2 separate regions of the Homo sapiens genome follow, and region 2 is linked to region 1. Evidence: promoter capture Hi-C in 16 types of primary human blood cells and fetal thymus (Javierre and others, 2016). All regions are on one chromosome and are shown on one strand. Each heading gives the region's core, a stretch centred on a gene start or on the middle of the fragment in contact. The rest is flanking DNA. Distances are from core to core; before and after follow the strand shown. Region 1 holds the start of TTR (transthyretin). Region 2 has its middle 80 kb from the start of DSC3.

Region 1 (2,700 bases), core at 1-2,500:
TGTAAATTCTTTAGCAGATGATGTGAGCCTCTCTCTACCAAGTGAGGGGCAAACGGGAAGATAAAACCAAGTCCTGTGGGAGGGTTCTTTGGCAACTTACCCAGAGGCAAATGGCTCCCAGGTGTCATCAGCAGCCTTTCTGAACACATGCACGGCCACATTGATGGCAGGACTGCCTCGGACAGCATCTAGAACTTTGACCATCAGAGGACACTTGGATTCACCGGTGCCCTGGGTGTAGAGAAGACACGTGAGAAGTTAACAAAATTGATCAGAGTGAAAGGATTTATTCTTTGTGGTATTAGAAATCTGGAGCGAAACAAGAATTACACACTGATCCCATTATCAGGAACGTAAGTGTCGACAATTAATGAGCTTCCCTACTCAGTATAACACAGACGTAATTGTTTCCAAAGCAAGAATGGTTTCTGCCTCCAGACACACTGCTATCAACCAGGGATGTGTATAATGAATTTTAAGGGAGAAAATAGGTCCCCTGAGAACAGTTGCTTTGTTAAAAGTCTCCATTTGAGTGGAATTACTGAAAAGATGTAATGTACCATACATAGGGCCAAACAGGTTTTCCTGAGATCATTTTAGTTGTTGCTATAGTCACTCCCTCTTACCAGTTGTTATAAAATAATGTCAGAACTACATCCAGACCCATTTTATAGTATTAGTTAATTCTTCTAGAGGATTTAAGAATTAGATATCTGACTAGAATATTGTTCACTAAGCCTTTTAAAGATTAATCAATAAATACGTTTTGAATAACTATAGGGCCAGAATATAATCTCCTGCAGTTTGTCCCCCAAATACATTTTATGGAGGGATACTTTTCTGAAAATTCAGTATTAACAGCTTCCTTAATATCATATCTTTATTTCTATCATCTATCTGAGGAAACAGAGGTACCAGATATTACAAACCTAATGCACCAAAGCAATGAGGTAGAATGCTCAGAGTTCAAGTCCCAGCTCAGTAAGCTCAGTGGAACTTCATTCTTTTTGAAGTTTGAATTAATTATATTAAAAATAGATGCTGGGTACCCTTGCCCTAGTAATAAAAGCTGGTTGGCAAAGCTGGAAGGAGTCACTTCTACTTCATTTAGCGTGAATCTTAAATGTAGGAATGGGATGTCACAGAAACACTCACCGTAGGGCCAGCCTCAGACACAAATACCAGTCCAGCAAGGCAGAGGAGGAGCAGACGATGAGAAGCCATCCTGCCAAGAATGAGTGGACTTCTGTGATGGCTGCTCCCAGCCTGGGGCTTTTATACTCACTTCTCCTGAGCTAGGCTGCTTATCCCTGCCAATCTGACTGCAAACCTGCTGATTCTGATTATTGACTTAGTCAACAAAGAGAGAATAAGTAACCCATACAAATATGAACCTTGTCTAGAGAGATTAGAGCATCGGAACATTCGTTCTATGAAATATTCTTAATAGGTCATTTGACCAGTTAGGTCACCAAAACAAAACAACCAAAACAAAACAAAACAATCAAAACAAAACAAAAATAGTCTTCTCCCTGTGTGACTGCGTGCACTAACATTCTTGGGGGTAATTTTTTCCTCCCTCACATATTTCTATGCATGTTTTCCATTTTTATAGATTTTTTGTCTCTCATTTTAGATGCAAGATTTTAGACAGATGCAAGTTGTAATAATGTATTTCATGTTGAATGACATCTAGCTGCACAGGCTTAAATATAGTGCATTAGAAAATGTTTGCACTTGATGGATCCATGGGTCAACAAGGAAAAACCCTTGGCAGTGCTCACATTTTTAAAAGCCTACATTTTAGCCAAACTAAGTCATTTGGAAGCTTTGCTTAGTCAGCAATTTCTCCACAATGTGTGTGTGCATGTGTGTATGTGTGTGTGTGTTCTGCCCAGATAAAGTCCACTTCAATCTAAGAATGGCATCTTCCCTCCCTCCCTTCCTTCCTTCCTTTTTTCCTTCCTTTTTTTTTTTTTTTTTGACAGGGTCTCACTCCAACGCCCTGGCTCGAGTGCAGTGGCACGATCACAGCTCGCTGCAGCCTTGACCTCCCGGGCTCAGGTCATCCTCCCACCTCAGCCTCTTGCCCAGGCTGGTCTCGAACTCCTGAGCTCAAGCAATCCACCCGCTTTGGCCTTCCAAAGTGCTGGGATTACACGTGTGAGCCACTGAGCTGGGCCAGAATGGCATATTTCAACCTGGCATTGATGCCCCTGAAATACAGAGAACCAAATCTTCTTTACTGACTCTTCTGCATTGGGCATGCAGGAACAAGGCTGACAGCTGGTTTTTGACAGAACCAAACTTGCTGGAAGAAAGTAGAGATGACTGTGAGAACCAGAAGCCATGATTGACAGCAGATTCTTTTCCTCCTGGCCGACTTATTAATACAAGTCCAGAAATTATGATGATTTGATGATTCATTACTCACATACAAAGTCTCTGTGTGTATGTGTGTGTGTGTGTGTGTGCGCGCGCACGCGCATGTGTGTGTGTGTCCACTAGCATGCGTGGCTTTGTTCATGGATAAACTAAGGCAGGTTTTTGTCCTTATAAGACAAACATGTAGAAAACATAGAGAAGACAAATATTTTGGACAAATACAAGCCAAGAGCAAGTCCGGTTTGGAGCACTAAGAATTGAGGGAACATTCCCATAACTGATAGAGTCAGATTAGAAAAAATTCAACAAGAAATT
Region 2 (2,700 bases), core at 68-2,567, 630 kb after region 1:
TTCACAAATGGCCTTTAAATTCTTTCAACATTGACAGTCTACCCTGTTCCCTGGTTCCCAGCTTCCCTGACTATTTTTGTTGCCTCTTCTCATGCAAGTCTACCTCAGAACATCTGTTCTCAGTACTTTCTTTGTCTCTACTGAACCTGAGCTGGTAGTAATTTCCTTACTCAGGGCTGCTCTTTTTACCCAGAGTTCTATAATCTAACACATTACAACAGATTTTTGTCCTTGATTGTATATCAGAATCACTTTAAAAATACAGATGACTGGGCTTCACCCAAAGTCATTTAAATCAGAGCCCCTGAGGTGGGCCTTGGGCCCCAGCATGTATTTCTTGTGTGTGGTTGATGTGGTGCAGAAAGTGCTACCCCAAAATAGGGCTCTTTGGCATTTGAGGAACCAGCAGAAGCAGGAAGGCCACTCTCACTCTTCCTCCTCCATTATCCCCTGAAGCAGGTCATAAGACCTAGGAAACCTCTCCCATCTATTCCGCTGCTTCTCCTCTGAACACCCTCATTTGAAAGGTGTCCTGCCCTAAAACCGGAGGAAAGGCATGTCACTCAGAAACACCAAGAAGGATCTGGACAAACAAACCTTGTCAACTTCCCTTCAATTTCTTACCATTCAAACTTCTGCATGACTGTCCATAACAATACATGGTTTTCCCTGGGTCTTTCTGTCTTCATTTTTGAAGGCTGCCATGACATGAACAACTGCCTTTTGTCATGAGGAGTCAGCAATGCACCTTATGATGGGTGAGAAAAAAATCTGTTCTCCTCTACACAATCAGGTTTGAGAAGCACTGCTTTATAGGCGGTGGAACGTTGTTTCTTCTGCACAATTCAAAGAAAACCAAAATACCTATTTTAACAAGTTAACAGATTTCTTCATCTATATCTAGATGAACATATTGATCTTAGGAATGTTATTTTTATAATATCACAAAAACTTATTGAAGGAAGACAGAATTATTATAAGCAGAAAGTGTATGGCTAGGATAATTCCTGGAAGGAAGTGTGAATTAAGACAGGAAGGGGAAATGAGGGAAACGTCTGGAAACAATGTCTCAAGATTGAAGAGACTAAACAGAAGCTTGGAAAGATACTAGTATCAAACCAGAAGGACCTGGAAGAGTGACAATGAAACTGTAGCTAGGATAGGGGTCCAGGGGAGACAGATGATTTTGTAGAATTCCATATTTATAATAGGGAGAAGCAAGTTAGCTTAGAGTTTCAGGTGGCTGTTAGGAAACAACTCTCTCCTCCAAACATGAAGTTATATCTGAATCACTGACTGATATAATTTTGCTTTCATCAAGAACTCAAGAAATATTCAGGCTGGAGCTAAACCATGTTAGGAAGGAGAAAGCAAGGTTTTTCAAATCCTTATCACCTGGTTCTTTTCTAATAATTTGCCAACATATATCTCATTTGTACCCTGAATGCCTACTTCATTGACAAAGATACATCTTCCACTCCTTATGGTTAGTTGCTCCTAATGAAAGAGTAACGGGAAATGTTGAAATATTAAGCTTAATTCCAGCATGAAACTAAATAGAACTTCCTGTATTTCTTTGGATAACCATGGCATCTATAGACTAGGAAGAATGATTGTTTTGAAGATTTGGAATACCCAATTTTTTTATTTTGTAGACAACCTTTTAGGATACTTGGATATGAATGACAACTTCTCACTTCAAGGTGTAATGATTCATATTCATTTTATGATTGAGATATAGATGGTTTAAGCCAATTATGTTTAAACTTCTATTTCTGGCTGTGCTTGTGACCATTGATTAATTTGAAGAGTTTGTTTCTACTATGGGCATAGATGACCCACCAGTCAGCTGCTAAATGATCACTGCAATTTATACACAGACACTCAGAATTGTATTTAGTAAGTACAAATGACCAATTGAAACCACCAAATTTAAACGGTCTTTCAGGACTGAACAATTGCTTAGTTCTCAGTGATATAAAAGCTGAAAAAGTATAATCAACTGGAAAACAGTTAATTCAGGGCAGAACTAATGGAGTGTAGTTTTGCTCACATTACAATCAATTTTAGTAGTTTTCAGTCTTTATTGAAATTAAAAATTAGAAAGTGTTTAAAATATCTTTTGTTTCCTTAATAGCAATATTACAATGTATCAAGGATAGATGCTAGTAGCTCTTACAATTACACCACATTTATCACAGTAATTATGAACATGCTATTGTGTTTACTGTTGCATTAATTTGATTATAAATGCCAAAAATGGTTTTATGAAATACTTCTTTGTTGGTAAGGAAACATTTCATATAAGTATATTGAAACATCATAATTTGTCACAACATTAATATATAATCATTATAAAAATGAAATGTTAATACTAAGAAAATGAACAACAATTAAATCTAAGGTATTAGAATTTATTAGATGGATAATTATAATTTACATGGACATAAAATAATTTAGCTTAGAAATTACTAGAAAAGATTTTACTTCTCAGGTATTTTTTTTTTTTACTCTAGAAAAAAATGCTTTTTTGTTTGTGAAGGAAATAATATATTATATCAGTGGTCCCCAACATTTTTGGCAACAGGGACCAGATTTGTGGAGGACAATTTTTCCACAGACCAGTGAAAGAGGATGGTTTCAGGGTGATTCAAGCAAATTGCATTTATTATGCACTTTATTTCCATTATTATTACATGG

What was found. Contacts are between HindIII fragments. The CHiCAGO score rates a contact against its expected background, and 5 or more counts as called.
Region 2: a contact is called between a fragment that was not itself captured here and the fragment with the promoter of TTR in region 1, in 1 of 17 cell types (monocytes). The highest score is 5.2, in monocytes.

What each region holds. Positions count from the first base shown.
Region 1 is chr18:31,590,427-31,593,126 of GRCh38, reverse strand. TTR (transthyretin) reads right to left here and starts at 1,250. Exons shown (of 4, transcript NM_000371.4): 1 at 1,156-1,250; 2 at 101-231. The coding sequence starts at 1,224. The HindIII fragment of the contact is 4,728 bases long and covers 1-1,830 here.
Region 2 is chr18:30,961,146-30,963,845 of GRCh38, reverse strand. No RefSeq gene overlaps it. Among named protein-coding and RNA genes, the nearest start is that of DSC3, 80 kb to the left of the region's middle. The HindIII fragment of the contact is 439 bases long and covers 1,098-1,536 here.